Linked DNA regions of Homo sapiens: regions 1 and 3 are each linked to region 2. The links are contacts of gene promoters, found by promoter capture Hi-C in human tissues and cell types (Jung and others, 2019). All regions are on one chromosome and are shown on one strand. The core of a region is centred on a gene start or on the middle of the fragment in contact, and the rest is flanking DNA. Distances in the headings are between cores, read along the strand shown. Region 1 overlaps MIR550A3HG (MIR550A3 host gene). Region 2 holds the start of WIPF3 (WAS/WASL interacting protein family member 3). Region 3 overlaps FKBP14 (FKBP prolyl isomerase 14).

Region 1 (3,554 bases), core at 811-3,310, 140 kb before region 2:
ACATTAAAGAGTATGAGACAGAGACTATCTCACAAAGCCTAAAATACTTATCGTCTGGCTCTCTATAGGAAAAGCTTACTGACCTCTTGTCTAGGAGAATGAATAGACTAGGGATATAATGTGAGTTTCTTGGGCAGCACCAAGGGCTTCATTTGAGGTTGATGGTCTTGAACTGAGAACAAAACCAGCCAACAGAATTGTGTTTCTCCAGCTATAATCAGATTCCCAAGTATAAACACGGAGAAAATGGAGAGTTGGATTTAATCATGTTGGGTCAGCTTTCCCTTGGATGTAGAAAGCCAAAAAGAACATTGCTCATGGCCTTCCAGCAATGTCAGCAGCAACAACAACAAAAGCCAGACAGTCTTCAAATTGACAACTTTTCCTGAAGTGGTCAGGGAGCTGAGGTCACAGGACAATCAAATAACCCAAAATAAATTAAAAAGAAAAACCATGTGCAAGGAGAACAGAAACAAGCATTTAATTATACGGGTCATGCCACTAGACACAATGGTAAAGAACTCAGCTCAAATTGTTCACCAGTCAGTCGGTAAATGCCTAGTGTGGGTTAGCAAGGGAATTTGCAATTGCTTACAGACATTTTTACACAGAGCTCATAAGGTGCTGACAAAAGATTAGCAAGAGTGCTCAGAAAGCATCCTCCATGGTAAAGCCTGGGAGAACAGCAGCCACTTAGAGAAAGGCATGAAACCCACCCACCCCGCTCTTCCTTATCTCCCCTATAAGTCTTAAACTCTCTTAGCTTAAACTGCTGGGGAAAAGTTGGGGGAAAACACTGTCCTTTTCACATTACTGGTACAAAAATAGGCCACAGATCCTGATTTAGTTCTTGAGCCTTACTTTTGCTAACCCCTTGACTCCTGTTTCATATCTTCTCTCTCCAGTTATCCCAAACCTCCTCTCCCGCTTTCACTCTCAGCGAATGACCTTGTTTTCTACTGTTTTCCCGTGCCCATTATGTATTTCCTAGCTGTATCCCAGGTGCCTACTTCCTGGAATATGGAGCTGATTCAATATCATATTTGTTGAATGAATGAAACTATGCAAATTTCCTTGTGCTACATACTCAGTAGTCAATGGATACAACCTAAGCACAACCAAAATTAGGTTTATCTGTATCCTCACCTGCATTTGGTATGGTCACTATTTTTTATGTTACTCATTCTTACACATATGTAGTGATATATCATTATGGTTTTAATTTACATTTCCCTGTTGGCTAATGATGATGTACATCTTTTTGTGCTTATTTGCCGTCCGTATGTGAAACGTGTCTTTATGTATTTTGCTCCATTTCTATTTGAATTGTTTGTTTTATGAATTTTGGATCTTAGGGTGTTCTTTATATATTATAGATGCTAATTACTTTTCATATATATGGCTTGCAAATATATTTTCCCACTCTGTAGCTTGCCTTTTCATTCTCTTAAACAGGGTCTTTTGCATAGAAAAATTTTAAAATTTTTATGAAGTCCAGTATGTCCATTTTTCTCCTATTGATTGTGCTTTTGGTGTCAAGTCTAAGGATTCTTTGCCTAGCCCTAGAGATAAAGATTTTCTCCTGTATTTTTTGTAAAGGTTAAGAGTTTTGCATTTTATATCTAACTGATCCATTTTGAATGAAATTTAGGTCAAGATTCTGTTTGTTTGTTTGTTTGTTTGCATATGGATGTTCATTACTCCAGCACCATTTGTTGAAAGTGGATCTTTCCTTTCTTTCCTTCACTGAATTGCTTTTGTGCCTCTGCCAAATATGTCAATTGGACATATTTTGTATGGGTCTATTTCTGGGTTCTCTGTTCTCTTCCACTGATTTATGCATCTACCCCTCTGCCAATACCATATAGGTTTTTGTTGTTGTTGTTGTTGTTTAGACTGAGTCTCACTCTGTTGCCCAGGTTGGAGTGCAGTGGCATGATCGCAGCACACTGCAGCCTCTGTCTGCTGGGTTCAAACAATTCTCATGCCTCAGCCACCTGAGTAGCTGGGATTACAGGCACATGCCACCACGCCCAGCTACTTTTTTATTTTTAGTAGAAATTGGGTTTCACCATGTTGGCCAATGTGGTCTTGAACACCTGCCCTCAAGTGATCCGCCCACATCAGCCTCCCAAAGCGCTGGGATTACAGGTGTGAGCCACTGTGTCTGGCCAGTAGTCTTAATTAACGCATCTATGCAGTAAGTCTTAGAAGCAAGTAGCCTGATTCCTCCTACTTTATTCTTTTCCAAAATTGGTTTGGCTAGGTTCTTTTTTTCTTTTTTGCCTTTTCATATATATTTTACAACATGCTATATCTACAAAAATCTTGTTGGGACTTTGATAAGAATTGCATTAAATTTGTAAATCAATTTTGGAAGAACTGACATCTTTATTGAATCTTCCAGTTTATGAACATGGTATATCTCTTCATTTATTTAGATCACCTTTGATTCCTTTCCTCAGCATTGTATAGTTTTGATCATCTAAGTCTTATACGTATTTTGCTAGATATACATTTAAGTTTTTCATGTCATAGAATTATAATTTTAATTTTGGTGTCCATCATTAGCACATAAAATACATTTTTTTATGTTTATCTTTTATCACGCAACTTTGCTGAACTCACTTGTTCTAGGAGTTTTGTTGTGGTTATCTTTTTGTTGTTGTTTTAGATTTGCTGGGATTTTTTACATAGTTCTGGCATGGGCAAATAGGGACAGTTTTATTTCTTACTTTTTAATCTGTATGCTTTTTATTTCCATTATTTGCCTTTTGCACTAAAACTTTTAGCACTGTGTTTAATAAGTGGTGAATGTGAACATACATGCCTTGTTGTCAGCCTTAGGAGAAAGCATCAGTATTTAATCATTAAGCATAATGTTAGCCACAAGTTCTTTGCACGTGATTTTTACACAGTTGAGAAAATCTCCCTTTTATTTCTTTTTTTTTCTGAGAGTTCTTACCATGAATGGGTATTGAATTCTTTCAAATTTTTTTTTCTGTACCAATTTATATGATTATGTGATTTTTCTTATTTTGCCTCTTAACATGTAATATGATGTATTTGAATATTGAAACAGCCTTGCATCCCTGGAAGAAAACCTCATTTGGTCATGGTATATAATTAATATATTATTGAAATCTATTTTTGCAATTTTGTTTGGGAATTTTGTGTTTATATTCGCAAGGGATATCAGTCTGAAGTTTACTTTGTTTTGATACTGTTGGTACTTTGTTGGTTTTAGTATCAAGGTAATACTAGTTTGAGGTAAAGAATTGGGAAGTGTTTCCTCTTCTCTTTTCCAGAAGAGATTGTATAGAATTGATGTTAATGATTTCTTAAACCTCTAGCAGAAGTCTCTAGTGAAAATACCTGGGTCTAGAGATTTCTTTTTGAAGAATTTCTACATTTGAATTCAAGTTCTCAATAGTTATAGAAATATTTAAATGATCTATTTTATATTGATTTTATTTATGGCAATAGTTTGAGTTTTTCAAGGAATTGGTATATTCCATCTAAATTGACAAATTTAAGTGTGTACAGTTGTTTAC
Region 2 (3,918 bases), core at 1,043-3,542:
GAAGAAGTGGAGAATAGACTGATAATTGGGAAGACAATTCACAGTGTCTGCCACTGAACAAGTACCATCTACTAGGAAGAGCTAGTGCCTTCTTGAAGTCAATTTGTCTTAGTGGAGCTAGGTGGAAATGAATCCCTCCCTAATGTCCGTAGGAACAAGATGCTAATGGTATTGTTACTTCACATGGATAGAAAACACTGATCACCTGAATGGAATGCCTCTTGAAGCTTTCAGCCCCAAATGTCCAAATTGATTCCTCACTCACCACCTCCCCATCCCTACAACCAGGCATTTTAAAAAACAAATTCTTTGATCCAATCCAGCATCTCTTGAGATAAATAACAGGCTTTCCATCCAACTGGCTCATGCTTGGGCTGCTCAGGAGATCTGATGGGAACTCTCTAGGCCCATGGCAATGTCTTCTCTAATAGTTTGACTTTTCTTCCTTTTTGAATTAGAATACTAGTGGTTATGTATTTAGTGAGCTTTAGCACTGGAGGTCCAGAGAAGGAGAGTGGCTGGGTCATGTTTTGGGGTTTTGGGTTTTGTTTTTGTTTTAGTAACAATCACCCATGTAAGAGGGCTTATGAATTTTATGTTGGAGAACTGTTCTTCAGGTTCCATACCTGTGGTCATCTATTATGATTCTAAAGGAGGAAAGGGCAAGAGGAACTCAGGACAAACAGGTGGAAAGCAAGTGCCTCATCAGCTTCCACTCACTACACATAGACCTTTCGTCACCTAAATCAAAAGAGAAAACCATGTTCTTGACGACACTGGAGTGAAAGACATCAAAAGTGTATTATTAATCCTTGCTTTCGACACATTGCCCAGCTACAAACATGAGTAATTAAGAGATCAGCTAAGGGCTGCTTGGGGAACATACTTTGACAGCAGCCACTACAGAACTTGAACCTGAATACAGGCTGCAATCCACGTGTGAGATCTTCCCTGCTGGCATTGGCTGCTCCCTCACCTGGGTCCCCAACATTTCACACAAGCCTCAGCACAGCGCTGAGCGCCAGGTTTCTCCTCTATTCCAGACCAGCAGCAACTTTAGAGTTAGACACCTTGCCCTGAGGCCCTGCAGAGTGTCTGGCTCATGGCAGATACTCAAACACCGAGGCTGAGTGAACAGTCCACGAGTACCCGCTTAGCTCCTCCACTAGCAGGAATGCCCAGGACATGGGCAATACAGAATCCTCACCCAATGATCTCAGCACCTACAGCAATGCATTCAGCCTCGGACACAAACTTTCTGCATCCTCCAAGGGCCTGAACAAGAAATGTGACAGAAGCAAGGTTTTCCGTTCTTCAAGCTTATTTCAGGTTTGTTTTTGTTTGTTTCTTTGTTTGGTTTGGTTTGGTTTTTTGAGACAGGGTCTCACTCTATCGCCCAGGCTGGAGTGCAGTGGTTCATTGCAACTTTTGCCTCCTGGGTTCAAGAGATCCTTCCACCTCAGCCTCCCGAGTAGCTAGGACTAGAGAGCGCCACCACACCCGGCTAACTTTTGTATTTTTTGGTAGAGACAGGGCTTCACCATGTTGGCCAGGCTAGTAACTCCTGACCTCAAGTGATCCGTCCACCTCGGCCTCCCAAAGTCCTTGGATTCCAGGCTTGAGCCACCGCGCCCGGCCCTATTTCAGTTTTCAGTCTGCTTTCTCCTCCCTTCGACTCTACCTGGGACATCAATCTACCTCCCCAGGCTACCCGGATAATTCTCTCATCACCTGGCTAATTCACACTCAGTCTTCAGTTTTTCTCGTCGACGTCAGCTCCTCAAGAAGCCCTCCCTGACCTACTCCCCACCCCAAGTTTAGATCAGGTGCTCCCTCTGGGAGCCGGCTCAGGAGGCCTCTGCCTCCTCTTGGTTGTGCTGTAATCGCCCATTGGTCGCTTTCCTTTTCTAGACTGTGAACTCCACGAGGGCAAGAGGTAATCTTGTTCTCTCGTCCCCATCGCTTATGACACCGCCTGGAGCTTAGTAAGGGCTCAACATTTTGGAATAAATTCAAGGAGTGGCGTGTCCCCAGAGTAGCTGTGCTGGGCCGTGTGCCGCCCGCGCAACAGCTCCTATTTGGGGAATTCCAGCCTTAGGCCTCAGTCTCTCCGCAGCTGAGACTTGGGACTCTGTACCCGGGAGGCGCGCCCGCCGACTTGGGACCCGCCTCCAGGGTCCCAGAGCGACCCCGCCCGCCGGGGCCGTGTCCCTGCCGCGGGGCGGCGGCGGCTCCCAGGCAGGAGCCTGCGAGCAGGTGGGGGCGGCGGCCCCGCCTCCGCGTCCCGGCAGCACCAGAGCCGGTGGCCGGGGAGCGAGCCGGGCGCACCGAGCGCAGCTCGGCGGTAGCGGCGCCGCTTGGAGCACGGGCGCTGCGGGACGGAGCCCGGAGCCGGAGGCGGCGGCGGCGGAGACGTCGGCCGGAGCTCGAGTCCAGTCCAGCCCCCGGCTCCGCCACCTGCAGGTAGCGGCTTCCCGCGCGGGTGCGGGTCGGTGCCCGAGGGTGGAAGGAACGGGCGGTGTGGCGGCCGCCGCCCTGGTCGGTCCCGGAGCAGAGTGGCCCGGCCCGGGACAGAGATCCTGAGGGCGTGGGAGGGCCGGGGAACCCCCGCCGGGCTGCAGCCCCGGGCCCAGGAGGTTGTCGACGTGCCGCGCGGCGCTCACGCCCCCCACCCGCACCCTGCCACGCCGCCCCGGCCGGGCCGGGCCGGGCCGGGCGGAAACAAACCGCGGGGTGGGGAGCGAGGTCACCACGGGGTTGCTTGGTGACTTCTCCGGACTGGACTCCCCGGTGAGCAGCCCCTGGCACCGAGGCCGCCTCGGCCTGGTCCTTCGCGACGCTCTCTCTTCTCCGCTTCGCCCCCGGAACAAAAGGCTGGGGTCTCGCTGGGGAGGGGGCTGTCGCGGGAAGGGCTGGGGCGGAGTAAAAGAGAGCTAGGAAATTGCAGAGCCGGAGGTGGCTTGGGGAATACAGAAGGAGCCCCCTAGTGAGGAAGCCAACTCCAGAGATGTGAAGTGACTTGTCCAAGGTCACACAGCTCATGGGGACAGAGCGCAGGTCTCTGGACACCCCTCCCGTGCTCATCTCCAAGCCCCTGGGGTCAGTAGTCAGACTGTGCTCCAGCAATGTACATTTGGCCACAAATGGGTTTAGGGTCCTTTGGAGGATTAGGTGGTGGGTAGGTAGGTGGCAGAGCAGATTTCCCCCAGCCCCTGACACGCACTCTCTGAAGGTGGCGGGGAGGGCGGGCACCCGGCCGCCCTGGACCTGGAGGAGCGCCGCCCGGGCCCCGTGGGCAGGCAGGCACCGGCTCTCAGGAACAGCGCCTTTGGAGGGTGGCGTGCCAGCCGCGTGGGTGTGCCCGTGGCGGGCGCCGGGGCGGCGTGGGGACCGTGTGTGCGCCTCCCTCTGGAAAGAAGTTTCTGCAGGGAAAGGCCAGGAGAGCGGTTCCATGCGCCCTGGGACAGTGTGGCCAATCCCTGACACTCAGGGCGCTTTGTAACTGGCTGTATTGGGGAGGAAAGTTACTCTGTAGCAGGAAGTTAGGCTGTCTCTTCGCCTCTGTGCCTGGGGTCCTTGGCTGTAAATGAGGGCCTTGTTTGGCATGACCAGTGTGATTTAGAAGGTTTGTGCCCCTCCGCCTCCTCCTTTCCAGAATCTTTTCTCACTTCACAGGGAGGACTGGGAGTGCACTTCTTGTGCCCAGCATTAATAGTTATCACTGGGACTCCTGCCTCCCTTCAATTTTTTTTAACTTTATCATTACGAAAGAGGTCAGAGGAGAGGTTGTTTTTGGGCCTTGCAAGGAGATAAACTCCAGGTCAATACCTGGACAGGACATGAGGGAGGCTTCTGGGATGCTAGAAATGCTTCTCACCTTGACCTAAGAATTACTGAAGTTATACCCTTGAGACTTGT
Region 3 (3,953 bases), core at 666-3,165, 210 kb after region 2:
TATATATTTTTTTCTTTTTTAAAATCCAGGATAGGTATTTATTCAATAGTAGCTGCTGTAGGTCTGCTTCTTTTTTTTTTTTTGAGATGGAGTCTTGCTCTGTCACCCAGGCTGGAGTGCAGTGGCACAATCTTGGCTCACTGCAACCTCCGCCTCCCGGGTTCAAGCAAATCTCCTGTCTCAGCCTCCCGAGTAGCTGGGACTACAGGTGTGCACCACCACGCCTGGCTAATTTTTGTATTTTTAGTAGAGACAAGGTTTCACCATGTTGGCCAGGCTGGTCTTGAACTCCTGATCTCAAGTGATCCACCCTCCTTGGCCCCCAAAGTGCTGGGATTACAGGCATGAGCCACCACACCCAGCTAACTTCAGTTTTTGATGAGACAGAAATGGGAAAATGTAGACTGGTTTACTACTTTATCTTATGATACAATGTTATTGTAGTATAATATACTATAGACTACCCATTAAAGAACCAGGAAGGATATTCCGCTAGCCTTAAGAAGTAAATATTGAATATAAATATAACTTTCTACCTCATCTATAACATATTGATACATTTTATTACAAAGAAACTCACACATAAATGATTTGTCCTATTTATCATAATAGGCCACCAATCACTAGGAGCCAAGCTTCATCAGCTTAAGTCCTAGGTAGCATGTCTCAATGCATACATATTTATATGTTATTAACCGTGTTTCTTTTCTTTTTTTCGAGACAGAGTGTCCAGGCTGGAGGTGATCTCGGCTTACCGCAACCTCCGCCTCCGGGTTCAAGTGATTCTGCCGCCTCAGCCTTCCTGGGTAGCTGGGATTACAGGCACGCATCACCACGCCCGGCTACTTTTGTATTTTTAGTAGAGATAGGGTTTCTCCGTGTTGGTCAGGCTGGTCTCGAACTCCCAACCTCAGGTGATCCGCCCGCCTCAGCCTCCCAAAGTGCTGGGATTACAGGCATGAGCCACCATGCCTGGCTATTAACCTTGTTTCTAACTTCAGCATTGCACATCTCCTTAGTAAAGCAGTAGCCATTAACAAGTCAGGTCCAACAACCATTTTCCTCTGGTCCTCAAGCAGAGACTCAGAGCCAGTTACACATAAACTATTTCATTATAACATGAAAATAGCAAGCCTTGGGCTATTGCAAAAGGCTTTTCAAATGTTGACCTCTAACTTGGAGAAAATAGAGGGAAGCAGAAATATAGGGTGCTAATTTGTGCTATAACCTGGTCTCATGTCGTGGTATATTCCCAGTTGCAACATTTTAAATTTATAAGTGAGAAAGTAAAACAAAGCTTCATATCTGTGAAAGTGAAAAATTGTCCAGAAGTCTTCTATTCAAAGACCAATTAGCTTTTTCTTCCCAATAACTTATCAGAAAGAAATGGGTACTTAGAAACCTAAGGGGTTCTTTAAATAGGAGTCAGAAAAAATATATAAAAATAAAAAACAAAGCAAGAAAGAACATTGTATAAAAATAAAATGTTCTTTAAAGATGACTGCCCTCTCTTGAAAGATGAGTGCTATATTAAAAGGGTAGATGTATCTCTATAACTCATCGTGTTTATATGTAAATTCTCTGGCAGATATAAACCCATCTTTGTCTTCATCTTCTTTATCAAAAATATCCTCCACCAAAGCATCATGATGACTTTCATTCACCACCGCACCATGTTTTTCAAACTCCTTCTTTAAATATGCTTTAACCTACAAAATAACAGATCCCATTAATAACTTGGATTCATAAGATACCCACATTGAGCCAATCAATATCACAGACATGGACTGTTATTATATTTAGTTCATTAACTAAATATAATACCTTCTAAACAGCCATTTTATGACATAGTTTTAATGATAATTAAAAAATAATAGAAACTTTTTCCCTTAAAAAAACTGTTGCTAAACTGCTAAAGTGGAGACACAAAATATTGCTCAAAGGCAGGGCCAGGTGTGGTGGCTCATGCCTGTTATCCCAGCACTTTGGGAGGCCCAAGTGGGAAGATTGCTTGAGGTCAGGAGTTGGAGATCAGCCTGGCCGACATAATGAAAGCCCATCTCCACTAAAAATACAAAAAAAAGTTAGCCAGGCATGATGGCATGCGTCTGTAATCCCAGCTATTCAGGAGGCTGAGGCAGTTGAATCGCTTGAACCTGGAAGGCAGAGGTTGCAGTGAATCGAGATTGCGCTGCTGCCCTCCAGCCTGGGCAACAGAGTGAGACTCTGTCAAAAAAATAAAAAATTAAAAAATTAAAAATATATATATATATATAGCTCTCTCTATATATATATTGCTCAAAGGCAGAGATAAAGCTTATGTCATGTATACAATCCTCATATAGGGCTTATATTATTGGAGAATACCCAATGAGAGCATACTACTTGTTCTTAATCTGAATCTAAATACTAGGCATTTCTTTTCTTTTTTTAGACAGAATCTTTTTTTTTTTTTTTTTGAGACGGAGTCTCACTCTGTTGCCCAGGCTGGAGTGCAGTGGCGCAATCTCGGCTCACTGCAAGCTCCGCCTCCCGGGTTCACGCCATTCTCCTGCCTCAGCCTCCCGAGTAGCTGGGACTACAGGCGCCCGCCACCACGCCCAGCTAATTTTTTGTATTTTTAGTAGAGACGGCGTTTCACCGTGTTAGCCAGGATGGTCTCGATCTCCTGACCTCGTGATCTGCCCGCCTCGGCCTCCCAAAGTGCTGGGATTACAGGCGTGAGCCACCGCGCCCGGCCTTTTAGACAGAATCTTGCTCTGTCACCCAGGCTGGAGTGCAGTGGCACCATCTCAGCTCACTGCAACCTCTGCCTCCCAGGCTCAAGCAATCCTCCTACCTCAGCCTCACACGTACCTGGGACTTACAGGCATGTGCTACCACATCTGGCTTTTATATTTTTTGTAGAGATGGGGTTTCACCATGTTGCCCAGGCTGGTCTTGAACTCCTGGGCTCAAGCAATCTAAACCCCTCAGCCTCCCAAAGTGCTGGGATTAGAAGCATGAGCCACTGCACCCCATGGACACTTCTCTTAAAACTAGATTAAATAGTGGCATCTTTGACTTGAATAAATGTCTGCAAGTAGTGGGTCTTTTGGGTTTTGGTTATGATCATGTGATTAGATTGAGTCTAATCACAACCTTTCAATCTCAGAAAGTCAGGTCTGATAAGTGCCTAGACTACAATTTTCCATTTTCATTTGTTTTTTTGTTTTTCTTTTTTTTTTGAAATAGAGTCTTGCTCTGTCACGCAGGCTGGAGTATAGTGGCACGATCTCGGCCCACTACAACTTCCAACTCCCAGGTTCAAGCGATTCACCTGCCTCAGACTCCCTAGTAGCTGGGATTACAGGCACCTGCCACCATGCCTGGCTAATTTTTGTATTTTTAGTAGAGACAGGGTTTCACCAAGTTGGCCAGGCTGGCCTCGAACTCCTGACCTCAGAAGATTTGCCTGCCTTGGCCTCCCAAAGTGCTGGGATTACAGGTGTGAGCCACCATGCCCGGACTCCATTTTCATTTCATTCAGATATTTAAAAATATAAATATTGTTTTCAATTTCCCACAAGATTCACCACAATGAAAATCAGCCTATATTTTCAGTTTTAATTATATCACCTCTCTTCCTTCTGTTTAGACCAGCAATTTCAAATCCTCTCTCCCCCAGCTTTCAAGAAGTACACATATAGTATATATTTATTTTTAAGTTAAAGTGATTTAATGCAGTTGTTAAAAAAAGGGGTGGGGGAGAGATCCATTAATCCATTAAACTCTATGGATTAATGTAGAATGTATTTCTAGGATATATTGTGTGAATAAAGCAAAACGACAAAACAGCATGTATAGTTTGCTTCTTTTTGTGTAAGAAAGGGGGAAATAAGACTATGTATTTGGATTTGCAGAAAGAAACACTGAAAGGATATATTAGAAACTAATAAAACTAAGCCGGGTGC

What was found. Contacts are between HindIII fragments. The study calls those that stand out against the background at their distance.
Region 1: a fragment that was not itself captured here is called in contact with the fragment with the promoter of WIPF3 in region 2 in 2 of the 25 tissues and cell types used here (mesendoderm cells and neural progenitor cells).
Region 3: a fragment that was not itself captured here is called in contact with the fragment with the promoter of WIPF3 in region 2 in 1 of the 25 tissues and cell types used here (dorsolateral prefrontal cortex).

The regions. Positions count from the first base shown.
Region 1 is chr7:29,665,336-29,668,889 of GRCh38, forward strand. All of the region lies in intron 1 of MIR550A3HG (MIR550A3 host gene), which reads right to left. Among named protein-coding and RNA genes, the nearest start is that of MIR550A3, 14 kb to the right of the region's middle. The HindIII fragment of the contact is 5,345 bases long and covers 1-3,554 here.
Region 2 is chr7:29,804,216-29,808,133 of GRCh38, forward strand. It overlaps WIPF3 (WAS/WASL interacting protein family member 3), which reads left to right and starts at 2,293. Exons shown (of 9, transcript NM_001080529.3): 1 at 2,293-2,463. RefSeq lists an enhancer at 2,029-2,938. The HindIII fragment of the contact is 12,406 bases long and covers 774-3,918 here.
Region 3 is chr7:30,013,185-30,017,137 of GRCh38, forward strand. It overlaps FKBP14 (FKBP prolyl isomerase 14), which reads right to left. Exons shown (of 4, transcript NM_017946.4): 4 at 1-1,709. The coding sequence ends at 1,551. All of the region lies in intron 2 of FKBP14-AS1 (FKBP14 antisense RNA 1), which reads left to right. Among named protein-coding and RNA genes, the nearest start is that of FKBP14, 12 kb to the right of the region's middle. The HindIII fragment of the contact is 5,507 bases long and covers 1-3,953 here.